2 separate regions of the Homo sapiens genome follow, and region 1 is linked to region 2. The links are contacts of gene promoters, found by promoter capture Hi-C in human tissues and cell types (Jung and others, 2019). All regions are on one chromosome and are shown on one strand. The core of a region is centred on a gene start or on the middle of the fragment in contact, and the rest is flanking DNA. Distances in the headings are between cores, read along the strand shown. Region 1 has its middle 93 kb from the start of UGT2B28. Region 2 holds the start of UGT2B11 (UDP glucuronosyltransferase family 2 member B11).

Region 1 (6,818 bases), core at 3,993-6,492, 160 kb before region 2:
TCTCAACCAGGAAATCTGGACTAGAAAGTCCGCTGATAACTCCCGGTGTACTTGTGGACCACCACGGAAAGTGAAAGAGTATGAACTGCATCCAGACTTACCAACATTCCCAGTCCCAAAGGGTAGGGGTTGTTAGCCCTTTTCCAGAGAGGCTGACACCCTGTCTTTAGTCCCATGGCCGCGATAATCACCTTTAAGTGGCTGACAGGTGCCCGGTTTAGCCTCTGAATTCTAAGGAAGGACAGGATAGAATAGCAAGCCAAAGAGGTCCCATCGTACTCGCCACGTGACGATCTAGATGCCTTTCCTGGAGATCCTCCTGGCTGGCCCGCCAAAAATGTAATGCCAAAGGTTCTTGCCTAAGCCTTGCCAAAGATTTGGTGTGGCGGCAGCCCTCAGTGAGGGTGAGAGAGAGACACGGGTCAACCGAGAGAAAAAAAAGCTGTAGGCTTTATCGAGCAGAGTGATGGTACAAAGCTTCCACAGGGTGGAAGGGGTCCCAAGCGGGTAGCTAGTGTTGGATTTTTCGATCACCTTTTAAACTCTTTAAGACGGGAAATAAATGTGGTGGGAAGATGTTACCAGAGCGAGAAAAAAAGACAATTAACATGTCTTAGATCTTGAGGAAAACCTGAATTGTAACTGAAGTTTTATCTACTTTATAACCTTGCAGCGGCATGGCAAAGGAGACAGAATCTCACAGGATTTTACAAATTGTGTTTACAAGGAATTGGAATTGGGAGCATAGACAAGGGCTGCTGGTCATGGAAAAACTGGCCTTTAACATTCCTTTTAGTTTCAGGGGAGGGGGAAGGGAGAGAGGGAGCAAAGACACAGGGAAGGTTACAACTAAAGTTTCTCTGTTTATAGCTTTCTTGGGGAAGAAAACACATGCACAAATTCTGATGTTAGGAATATTTTAAGCATATATCTTCAGTATGATTCATCCAGGACCAAAGTAAGTTCTGATGCAGGAAATGAGTGAGTTTCACAGTTTTCGGAGCCCCTACTCGACCAAGGAAACACAGCTGGAACCTCCTCTCATTTGTACATACATTTTTTCTTCTGAAACTTTGCTGAAGTTTTTCAGAAGTAGGAGCTTTTGGACAGAGGCTTTGGGGTTTTCTGTGTATAAAATAATACCATCTGAGAAGAGAGATAGTTTGTCTTTCCCTCTTTCTATTTGGATGACTTTTGTTTTTCTCTCTTACTCTGGCTAGGACTTCCAATACTGTACTGAATAGCAATGGTTAGAATGGACATCATTGCCTTGTTCCAGTTCTCAAGAGGAATCCTTTGAGCTTTTGCGCATTCAGTATGATGTTGACTGTGAGTTTTCACAGATGGCTCTTACTATTTTGGAGTATTTTCCCTTAACACATAATTTGCTCAGGGTTTTTTAGAGTAAAATTGAGAACAAACAATCATAGAAAACATCAACAATACTGAAAGTTTGTTATTTGAAAGAATAAATAAGATTGATTAATTACTAGATAGACTACAAAAGAATGAAAGAGAGATGATCCAAATAAACACACTCAGAAATGACAAAGAGGGGATCATCATCAACCTCAGGAAAAACAAACTACCTGCAAAGGCCATTATGACCATCTCTAGGCACACAAATTTAAAAACCTAGAAGAAGCAGATAAATTTCTGGACACCTACATCCTCCCAAAGTTGAACCGGGTAGAAATAGAAACCCTGAACTGACCCAAAATGAGTTCCAAAACTGAATCAGTAATATAAAGTCCAGCAAACAAAAAAGACCTGATTCAGATAGATTCACAGCCAAATTCTTTTATACATATAAAAAGAAATTCTAGCCATCCTGCTGAATTATTTCAACAAATTGAGGAGGAGGGACTCCTCCTTAACTCATTCTATGAGGCCAAGATTGCTCTGATACCAAAACCTTGCAGAGACACAGGAAGAAAAGAAAACATCAGGCCAATATCTATCATGAATATAGACACAAAAATCGTCAACAAAGTACTAATTAATTGAATTCAGCAGCACATCAAAATCTAACCAGCACAATCAAGTAGGCATTAATCTTAGGATGCAAGATTCGTTAAACATATGCAAATAAATAAATGTGATTCATCACATACCTAGGACTAAAAAGAAATACATCATGATCATTTCAATAGATGCAGCAAACACTTTCAAAAAGTTCAACAACACTTTCCTTTTTTGTTTTGAGGCACTCTCAAAGGAAATAGAATTTAATAGTTGTGCTCAAACTTCAGAAGGTAGTGGTAACAGACTACTACTAAGATACCTTCATAATCTTGGGAAAAACTGTGGCTACTACAAAATGAAACTTGTGTGCTGGAATGGCCTTGCCAGTGAATGAAAGAGGGAATCAGAAGGCTTATGATAGTGGATATATTAACATAGACATCTTTTTTTTTTAAATTTTATTATTATTATACTTTAAGTTTTAGGGTACATGTGCACAAAGTGCAGATTTGTTACATATGTATACATGTGCCATGTTGGTGTGCTGCACCTATTAACTCGTCATTTAGCATTAGGTATATCTCCTAATGTTATCTCTCCCCCCTCCCCCACCCCACAACAGTCCCCAGAGTGTGATGTTCCCCTTCCTGTGTCCATGTGTTTTCATTGTTCAATTCCCACCTATGAGTGAGAACATGTGGTGTTTGGTTTACATTCCTTGCGATAGTTTGCTGAGAATGACAGTTTCCAATTTCATCCATGTCCCCACAAAGGACATGAACTCATCATTTTTTGTGGCTGCATAGTATTCCATGGTGTATATGTGCTACATTTTCTTAATCCAGTCTATCGTTGTTGGACATAGACATCTTATACAGTGCTGGAAATCTATCAAATATTTGCTAGTTGTAATGAATGTTCAACATGTCTATCCTTTGATAGGTCTTTTTTGACTCACCAAACCAATCTCACTGATACGATTTATGATCAGATATTGAAATAATAGAGACCTTCAGAAGGGAGATAGTCATAATACACATGAGTACTAAGACTGGGGTGTTATCCAGAAAGACCTAATTTAGAAAGCTGTGTACATAGTAATAGAGAAGATAGCACTAGGGACAAAACAGATAGGTGACCAAGGGAATTTCTCAATCTATAATACCAGAAGAGTTCAAGAATGGATACTAAAAAGTTGAGGGCAGCTGTCCTCACTAGAAATCACAGTAAACTGTCAAGGGTCTGGATCTAAGTTTGCTTTCAGACCTGAAATTTATTTACGGACAAAGACACCAGGCCCTTCAGGGAAAAAAATTCTGTAAAGCCAAATAAACTCCCATGATACTGATTCCATATTTTTTTTTTTTCCTGAAAGGGACAGTGACATCCCTAGGATAACTGGTGATTTCCTCAATTTCCAAAATGCATAATTGTGTAGATACACTTTCTCTTTAGAAAAACCGTGAATTATATCATTGGTGCCTGGATACAAGTCATTTTAGTGGGAAAGGCCAAGTGGATTATCTTTGCATTAGTTTCTTGGGCTGCTTAAAATAGAAATTATTCTCTGATAGCTATCTAAGCCAGAAAGTCAAAATCTGTGTTCTCAGGGTTCATTTGTTCTGGAGGCTCTAAGAGAAAAACAGTTCAATGCCTGTCTCTTGGCCTTTACTGGTTGCTGACAATTCTTGGAGTCCCATGGCTTATGGCTTCTCACCAACTTCTCTTTCCTCAGCATCATCTTTTCTTTTCTTTCTTCCCAATTTTCTCCTGCCTTTATTCTTTTCAAAAAAATTTGTTTGTTTTTAATTTTTTGTAGAAGCGATGTCTTGCTATGTTGACTTGGCTGGTCTTGGATTCCTGGCCTCAAGGGATCCTCCTACCTTTCTCCTTATAAAGATATCTGTCATTGGATTTAGAGCACATCATAAATCCAGAATAAATTTGTCTTGATTTTCTTTTTTTACATACATCTGCAAAGATCTTCTCTCCAATAAAGTCACTTTAATAGATTCTGGAGGTTACTCACTGGACACATTTATGGGGAAGACAACTCTTCAATTCACTAGATACATGAAGCTTCTTCATTCCTCCATTACCACAGATGTCAGGTGACCCAGAAAATGGAAAATAATATTGCGTTACATGCCTGGGGATTGTGAAAATAAAAGACCTTAAAAGTATAAAGGATGCAGGATGATGGGCTCCATTACATCTTTGATTAAAAGTCTGACCATTGCAAAATCCAATAGATCCTAGAGTCTGGTAGTGGACTCCTGCAATTTCCACCAAGTATTTGCTCCACTGGCATCCCATGTGTCAGATGGAGTATCTTTGCTAGACCAGAGATGAACATTCATATTATTAAAATGGCTGTACTTCTGACAGTGATTAATGGATTTATTGCAAACTCTATTAAATTCCTATGGTATTTCTTACAGAATTGAAAAAAAATCTTAAAATTTATGTGAAAACACAAAAGACTGTTAACATTCAAACCTGATTTTTTAAAAAAGCACAGGATGATCTCATATGTTACTTTTAAAAAAGCAACTATAAGACTTTATAGAAAAAAGACTTTCTTTTTTTATAGGTTAAAACTGAATCTAGTCAGTTTTATTCAAGATTAAATCTGGCTACTTCTTCTTCACCTCAGAATGTTAAAGTTTTTATAGGGTTATTCAAAAGTAGCTTAATTATGCCCTGTTCTCCATGTACAAGCCAGGAGACATTAAGTTCTGAGACTTATGTCCCAACTTTTTGGGACTGACTTTTGTTCCAATTGTGGGAATTGACTTTTGGTCTTTCCTTTCTTCTACAGTCAAAATGTCAGTGGATTCATTTTGATCCGTGCCATCTCTCTCTAAAGAAATATGCTTGTTTCCAAATTTTAAACTGTACTTAGCTTGGAAAAGAAGGACTAGTAACAGCGATAGGAGTTATCATTACATATCTAGCTATCATTACATAATGGAAGTCAGACCTTGTCAACTCAATCTTTTACCAAAATGTTAAACTCATTAATAGATTATTGAAATGATAACATGATTTCCTCTAGTGCTGCGCACAGGCTTCCCACTTTATTTAAGAAAATCCATTATTATAGAGCTTGGGTGATGGATAAAGTAAGGCATTCACTTGGTTTTTTTTATGTTATAGACAGAAGCTGGGTTTCGGTCCATAAGATCAAAATGTCCTCTGTTATTTATATTGATATAACTTTCTGAAAACAGTGCAAGTCAAAATTTGCAGTGTTAAAGGCAACCTGGATTTTGAAATTTTATCTCTTTTTGTGGGAAGTAATTTTAAGAATCAGATATAAAGTTTAAAATTTAAATAAATTTCTGTCTGATCTAGGAAATATTATTTCGCTATATTTGTGTTTTTGTCTGTGAAATGTTTGATCATCAATTCAAATAAAAACCACAATACCATTTTCCCCGACACCTCAATGAATTATTTGATTTCTTGTAGAGAAATAATTTGTACATCAATTTAAGAAATGCATCATATAAATTTCAAAAATAGATGTATATAATTTTAATGGCTTTATTGAAGTACAATTGAATAAAAAACCAAGTATTTTATACATACATATATATTATATATATTATATATAATATATATAATATATATATTTATATATATATTATATATATGTAATATATGTATGTAATATATATATTTATGAATTGTTGAGTTTGGACATATACGTGCACCCATGATGCTGTCATTATAACAGTGAAGGTAATAAACATATCCATTACCTACAAAAGCTCTCTTTGTCAGTCTTTGATTTTGATGGTAATAATGCTTGCGATTTACCCTCTTAGCACATTATTAAGTGCACAATACCACGTTGTTAACCATAGGCATTATATTGCAGAGGAAATCACTATGCTTATTCATAAGCATAAGTGAAACTTTATACCCGCTGAGCAACAACTCCCAATTTCTCTCTCTCCCAAACCCCTGGAAAACACTATTTTATTGTCTGCTTCAATTAGTTTGCCTATTTTACTTACCTAATATAAGTGGAATCATAAAATATTTGTCCTTCTTGAACTTGCTTAATTTACTTAGCATAATATCTTCTAGGTTCATCCATTTTGTCAAAAATGGTATCTTTTGTCAAACCTTGGCAACTGAATTAACATTTCCATTACTTCCATATACAGAGAAACAATTCTAACTGAACTTGTGAAAATAATTATATTGATATTAAATTAAAATGCTTATGAATAGTTTTTGAATTTTTGCAAGATCAGATATGGAGAAAAATCACAAATTTATCTTTATTTTAATGAACAAAAATATTTAGCATCTTGAAATAATTAGCTATGTGAAGTTAATTTGGAGATTTTCAGATTGTTCTACTGTATTTTGATTATTATTGACATAATATGATATATCTTAGTTATATTTCTGTATTTACTTTAAAATACATGTTTATATATACATATATACAAATATATATTTATAGACATTGTGAGTAAGTTAGTGTGTATGTCTTTGTGGGTGTGTGTTTTTTTAATGGATTCTCTACCAGCAGTTATCTAGTGTATGTCATGTCCTAATTAATATTACATCCCAGAAACAACTACTAAAACTCCTTTGAATTTTTATATTTTCTGTGCCTTCTTTCTAATAAATGCATGTATGATTGGAACAATACTGTCTGAATTGTTTCATTTTAGCATACTATGTAATAGTATGGTGAAGGGGTGTGAGGATGGCACACAGAGATGGGAATAACAGAGAGACAGATAGAAAGAAAAGAAGAAAGAAAGAAAGAAAGAAAGAAAGAAAGAAAGAAAGAAAGAAAGAGAACTTATTATAGTGCAGCCTTATTT
Region 2 (7,646 bases), core at 1,469-3,968:
ACATAATGCATGCACTCAAGGACATTAAAAATATTGAACAATATTGCCACTCTGCAGGCAATATTTGCTCAGAAACTGTGTTCCAACATCCTTTTGAGAAAGACTTATCTCATTTCAGGTTAACAGATTATTAATAGAATAAAAACAAATTTGTCTGTTTTGTGACATGCATCTTTTCCTTCCTAATTCTACTTTGATGTAAATTTCTGGTGAGACTTTTTAAAAGTACAAATTACCTGAATTACAAGACAATCTGTGAAACAAGTTCAGGAGTAGGCATTTAGAAGATAAATACTTTCTAAGAGTGAGAAACATAAGGAATGCTGCAAATATTCAGAAAAATAAAATATTGTAATTTAGACAAAATATTTGCAAATGAAGCAAAGTAACTGTAATTGTACTTAAAACATATCTGTTTGGATAAAAAGAAAATGAATTTCTATGGTCAGAAAAATAATGTCAGGAAACATGAAATGATGCTAATATCATAATTGTGAAAATACATAGAGAAAATGAAGACGGTCTATTTGAGAATGTTAAGATAAATAAGAATAGATCACACCCCTGCCTCATTGTTGACACAATGCTGCTTTCTTATACTAGAAACTCTTCATATACAATTAAATTATCTCTTGTTCTGGAGACAGCCATATTTACAATAAGAATGAAATTTATTATTCACACATGCAAACACAAAATCATTCATCCTTTTCTTTATTCACTTGCTTTCCAAAACCTCTATTGTCAATACTTAAATCATTGTGACATTGATTGATATTGATATGTACCAAGTTAGAGAAAGTTATAAAGAAAGATAGCATTTTAACAAGTTGTCTAAGAAATGGGCTTTTTTGTTTCTTATGCTGACAGTTGTATTTTAGCCCTGAATCCTGCGAGAATGTGCTGGTGTGGCCGATGAAATACAGTCTTTGTATCAATTTAATGTTGATACTTGATGAACTTGCTCAGAACACCATGAGGTAACTGTGCTTGTCACCTTCAGCTTCCATCCTCATTGATTCCAACAATCTGCTGTTAAATTTGAGGTTTATCCCACATCTTTTACTCAGAAGGAACTTGATTTCATATTTATGAAATTGATCAAGATGTGGACATATAAGTTTCCAAAGAGTACATTGTTGGCATATGATTCAAAGATGCAAAAACTACATATCATGAATGTTCTGATACTGTTCAAAAGCTCATTGAGTATGCTGTTTTGAACAAGAAAATTATGAGGAACAACAAGATTCCAGAATTTATGTCATTCTTGCAGATGTCAGTTCTCAGTAGTGAGCTGTTATCTGAACAGCTTAGTCTGTTAAACATTTGTTATACATTTGGTCTACTATCATCCATTTACAACTGGCAGTATGTACCAAGAACTCTGTGGAGGACTTACATTACCTCCTTCTGATGTAACTGTTGTCATATCAGAACTTAGTACCAAAACACATTTGTAGAAAGGTGAAAAATCTGTTGCATTTTCTTCATTTTGACTTTGCATTTGAGATTTTTAACAAAAAGAAGTGAGATTAGTTTTACAGTGAAGTATTAGGTAAGTTATTATTTAATTTATTCACTTTTCCCTCCAATATGTGGAAGGAAACCTTCCTTTTTTGGGTCTGTTGGAGTGTGTTTATAAATTAAAATAAAAAATAACTTTTTTGGTTATGTGAAAGACAAGGGTGGGCAAGGTTGTGGAGACATTGAAACCCTCATACATTGTTGGTGAGAATAGAAAATTATTCACTCACTCTGAAAAAGTCTAGCAATTCCTCAAAAGGTTATATTTACATTTACCACATAATTCAGTAATTGCCTTTCTAGGCATATCCCCAAGAAAAATAAAAACATGTCCACAGAATTCATGCACATCAATGTTAATCAATGCTATTCATAATGGCCAAAAGTGGAAGAAAATCAATATCTATCAACTTATAAATGAATAAATAAATTGTGTTTATAAATAGCATCTGATACAATTTGGCAATAAAAATGAAGTCCTTATTTACACTATTCTACGGATGGTCCTTTAAAAACATTAAACTAAATAAAAGAAGCCAGCCACAAAAGACCACATACTATATTGTTCCGTTTACTTTTAAAAAGATCCTGAATAGGTGTGTTTCTAGAGGCAGAAATTAGATTACTGGTTGCCTAGTGCAGGGTGGATGCAGAAATTTGGTGGGGAGATGAGAACTAATACACAGGAGTTTTTTGTTTTTTTAGATAAAACTGATTGTTACGTTGGATGCACAAGTCTGTGAATTTACTAGGAAATACTTAATTTTAAATACTAATTGATGAATCATATGGTATTTGAATTATACTCCAACAAAGATTTACAAGATATTCATTGAACCACGATATTCAAAAATGCTGTTTGCATTGTACAATCATTTCATCTCTTATTCTGTGTCAAGGGCTCTGCAGGACTCTCTCACTTGCCACTGTTCTTGACACTATTATAAAGTAGGTTACATAAAACAGGGTACTTGCAAGGTCATTAATCTTAGGTGGATGACAGTGAATATAAACATAAAAGAAACATAAAACATCCTTGAGTAAATATGAAGTAATCGAACTTTGTTTGTCTCCTTGCCATCCATGTACTCAGGATGCTCCTATAATATATTTACTTTGGATTGGAGGAGTTATATTTTAACTTGATTGATTTATCTCTGTATATAAGTATGAGAAAGAAACAGTGACTGGAAAAGAATGATCGCATTGCACCAGGATGACTCTGAAATGGACTTCAGTTCTTCTGCTGATACATCTCAGTTGTTACTTTAGCTCTGGGAGTTGTGGAAAAGTGCTGGTGTGGGCCGCAGAATACAGCCATTGGATGAATATGAAGACAATCCTGAAAGAGCTTGTTCAGAGAGGTCATGAGGTGACTGTACTGGCATCTTCAGCTTCCATTCTTTTTGATCCCAATGATGCATCCACTCTTAAATTTGAAGTTTATCCTACATCTTTAACTAAAACTGAATTTGAGAATATCATCATGCAACAGGTTAAGAGATGGTCAGACATTCGAAAAGATAGCTTTTGGTTATATTTTTCACAAGAACAAGAAATCCTGTGGGAATTATATGACATATTTAGAAACTTCTGTAAAGATGTAGTTTCAAATAAGAAAGTTATGAAAAAACTACAAGAGTCAAGATTTGACATCGTTTTTGCAGATGCTGTTTTTCCCTGTGGTGAGCTGCTGGCTGCGCTACTTAACATACGGTTTGTGTACAGTCTCCGCTTTACTCCTGGCTACACAATTGAAAGGCACAGTGGAGGACTGATTTTCCCTCCTTCCTACATACCTATTGTTATGTCAAAATTAAGTGATCAAATGACTTTCATGGAGAGGGTAAAAAATATGATCTATGTGCTTTATTTTGACTTTTGGTTCCAAATGTCTGATATGAAGAAGTGGGATCAGTTTTACAGTGAAGTTTTAGGTAAGAATTTGTTTAATCGGTAACGTGAAGATCTAACTTATTTGTGTCTTTGAAGCAGAGCTTTTATAAAGCCATAAAGTCAGGGAAGTGGAGTTTTTGGTAAGTGAATTTATGAAATGAAAATACAAGATGATCTATCAATCTCACAAACATTATAGAAAAGCTTAAATTATAAGGTCTGTTAAAACCCTGTGGCCATCACTCAAACAGAACACCCCAGGAAATCATAAACCTATATATTAGTACACCTAAGAATTTAAGCAATTACACATCTGTTTTACTATATAATGTTTTAGATCTTAAAAACAGTAAAATCCATCAAGTAACATCTTACTGAATGCATAGATATAGAATGAGTAATTACACATTTTTCTACAACTATCTATGTAACTGCAGAAAGTTTTCCTTGTAAATCTCAGTTTTCTTATTTAGATATTGAAAGATATTCCCATGTTTCCAGAAGGTTTCCTTCACAGTAGAGAGAGATAATGTCTACATCTCAGATGCAAAAGTCAATAAGGGTGATTTGAAGTTTCTAATATTTCTATACTCCCTAACTAAAGAATTGGAAATCATGCATTTGAAGTCCAATTATCTTGTTGAAGTGTGAAGGTTGTTATATCTATATAGTTTATTGAAACCATGTCTCTTTATTTAAAAATATGAGACAGATTAAGGTTGAGTACAGTTCTCTATTTCAATAATTTCTCAAAATTTCTAGCTATAATTTACAAATATATTTACTTAAATGATAATATTATTAAGATCTTAGCTCAAATCCAAATGAATAGTTGGTACCAGGATTTCTGCCATACACTCAAAATAGTACAGAGTTCACTTGAACCAAAGATAAAAGGATTAGCTTAATGAGTTGTGTAAACTGGACTGTTAGAAAATTGGTTTTATGGGTACAGTAGAATTAATTGATTATGGAGCTCAAAGAGTTGTTTAAATATCTATATGCAACTATTGAAGCTTTAAAGAGAAAATAAATTGATGTTTAATTATCTATGACTTATTTTAATAATTGTGAGTATACTGACTTGACATTAGAGATGTCGCTTAACCTCATAATTCTCCCACCACTTTGCCTTTCTTATAAATAAACATGGACAAAATATATAATACATAATAATATATTATTCATATATATTTATATATTTTTCAAAGCACATAAACTTTACCTACATCTTTGCTTACATTGTTCTAACCTTTTTCAGAAAGGTATGTAAAGTAATTATCTTACATCATCCACTTTTTCTTTTCTTTATTCCTGTCAGGAAGACCCACTACCTTATTTGAGACAATGGGAAAAGCTGACATATGGCTTATGCGAAACTCCTGGAGTTTTCAATTTCCTCATCCATTCTTACCAAACGTTGATTTTGTTGGAGGATTCCACTGCAAACCTGCCAAACCCCTACCTAAGGTAAACATACTTTTGTTGGTTTTATTTTGTTGGCTTCGAAGTTTCAGTAGAAATGAGTCTATAGTTTTCATTCAAAATGTTTGACTTACACTGAAAGAAAGATGGGAAGTAGGTGGTGTAAAGCAGATACTAATTAGAAACTCATGTATATGTTAATACCGTCACACGTATGTGAGTTTTATGCATATTACAAATAGAGAGGAATAGTAAGGAGACTTTGAATGTAGGGTTGATTAAAGTAAAATGTTGATTATGCAACACCTAAGAAGGTATTGGTCATTCATTCAAATAATACTTATAAAAGGATTAGCACAAAACACAAGTAAGTGCAGAAATTTCAGAGAAAAAAAATAGACACAGTTTCCGTCCCCACATACCTTACATTCTACTTTGATATATAGAAAAGTAATTAATGAAAATGTTATAAAAAACTATTATCTCAAGGAAAAACCCAATGTCAAAAAAGCATCAGTGGAGATAATAGAAAGTATCCTGGAGTTACTGATTAGTAAGATGAGGGCTAAAAAATATGCAGGAATAGGTAAAAGAATGAAGGGGAGGGGCAGACAAAAAGGGAAAGCAGATAAAGTGGTCAGGACAGTTCTCAAGTCCTCAGGTTTTGTTTTCAGGGAATGACTAAGAATGAGATGATACTAAGAGGTAAATTAGAGCCGGATACATATTAGTAGTGGAAATATTTCTTAAGAGTATTGAAAAACTACTAAAAAGAGTTAAGAAATAAATATATATGAAACGATTCTCTTTTTTAAGAAAAGCCTCCAAGATATTCAATGGATTAAATTACAGAAGGGCCACACTGTAAAGAGCTAACCATTCAGGAAACTTTCCATGGATTCAGGTAACAGATGATGGAAAAGTGGACTAGAATGTTGATAGAAATCATTAGGCCCACATTTACAGAAATAGTGCCAACTTCATATTGTGTTGTGTGGAAAAAATATTAAAACAGACAAAACACTTAAAATGTCTCTGGCATATAGTCAGTGACTCAGAAATGTTATTAATTTTGTAATTATGGTTATTTTGTGATTATTACTAATACTACTAACTACTTAACATGTGCAAGTCACTTGAGATATCATTCCTCATTTAAGAGAACCAGATTATTCAGCACATCAAGGTTATATTCTCTTGCAAAGTCATAGATGACAGATACCCTGTGGACTTGATTAAAATTATACATACCAATTGTGACAGTAAGATGAGCTAGTTGAAATTCTAAAATTCTACCATAAGTAACAAGGATCTTCACCAGTATTCCAGCTTAAAACTCTTCCTCAACAATATAAATGTGTACCTCAAATATGTGCAGACAAACCCAGGGTTCACTTGACTTTAACAAAGTATTTAAAATCATTTCTGCATTGAGATCCCAGAATTTTACATTTTAGAGCATAAACATACCTATTAGAGCAGATGATGTCTGCCTTATGACAAGCAAATCAGTAAAGCTTTCTGGATGAACTTGTCTCAACATCATAGGTGCCTGACAGAGAAGCACAGAGATAGTGAACAATGCATGCATAATAAAGACGAAATAATTTCTACCACTTGTATCTGAATAGTGCCCTTAGTTTCAATATGAAGAAACTTCTGTCAGCATATAAGATTATATTCTTTTTGAAGGAACACAAGAACCTCACATATTTTAAATTAATATCACATTTTAAGACATATGTACAAAGTAAGCATTCTTCAATGCATTATTATGCAACCTCTTAAAAGAACGTTTTTGCTTACATAAAACTGAAATTTTATTCCATTGTTAAAACTCAGTATCTCTGTTTAATGCAAATTGTATGGGCTTTATATAGTCACTTTCTCAAGAGAGAAAAGCTGAAGTAAGACTAATGAAAAATCTATGTCACTCTACATTACTCTTGAAAGATTTCCCCATTCACATTAAGGGAAACTGACAGTGCAAATTGGAGGAGGAAGAGAGTAGGAGGTGTAAAAGGACAAGAAAAAAGGTTGACTAGTAGTACAATAGTGGTAATTACTAATACTAGGTCTTGTTATTAACTTGCAGAAAGCTTTGAATGCAAGTCAACGGTTGTGAAACCAGCTATTTAACTGTTTATTATGTAAAATAATTGCTAACCCAGGTTGCATTCTTTTCAATTATATATTACATTCTCAGATAATTTCTATATATTTTAAGAGAATAAGACACTTGACAAACTGCATCAAGTGTTTTAAAAATGCGTAGTTATTAATTTTATAATATATTCACGTGAAATCATAAAAAAATCAAGGTGCACCTATTAAACCTTATGGAAAATATTCACAAAATTAACATTACAAGTAATCCAACATCTTATATGAAAGAATGATTAAAATGTATGTGCATACAATAGCATTAAAATAATTTTATCAATGAAATGTTCAATTACACCATCAGCCATAGTACAAATAAAGTGAGTTGGAAAATGATAAATATAACAAGATGGAAGTTTTCGCAGGATAAAATGTATATACAATAAGATTAAAATTTTCTAAATAAGTGTCACATGTATACATTGACCTATATAAATAGGACAAAATCCATAATAAAAAATACATATTTTCTATAAATAATATCTCTAGGTAGAAATTTTAGAAAAATTATTTTTTAAAAAACTTTTCATACTTTTATACAATTTCTTACATTAATTTTGTATTATTTTTATAATATTATCACAAAAGGAGAAACAACCAGTCAATATCAGTGATGAATCTCTAAACAGAGATTA

What was found. Contacts are between HindIII fragments. The study calls those that stand out against the background at their distance.
Region 1: a fragment that was not itself captured here is called in contact with the fragment with the promoter of UGT2B11 in region 2 in 1 of the 25 tissues and cell types used here (hippocampus).

Annotation. Positions count from the first base shown.
Region 1 is chr4:69,370,128-69,376,945 of GRCh38, reverse strand. No RefSeq gene overlaps it. Among named protein-coding and RNA genes, the nearest start is that of UGT2B28, 93 kb to the right of the region's middle. The HindIII fragment of the contact is 5,961 bases long and covers 2,262-6,818 here.
Region 2 is chr4:69,209,820-69,217,465 of GRCh38, reverse strand. It overlaps UGT2B11 (UDP glucuronosyltransferase family 2 member B11), which reads left to right and starts at 2,718. Exons shown (of 6, transcript NM_001073.3): 1 at 2,718-3,464; 2 at 4,745-4,893. The coding sequence starts at 2,744. It overlaps LOC105377267 (a long non-coding RNA gene), which reads right to left. Exons shown (of 6, transcript NR_136191.1): 5 at 6,319-6,400; 6 at 699-2,993. It also overlaps the pseudogene LOC100422021. The HindIII fragment of the contact is 9,933 bases long and covers 1-4,033 here.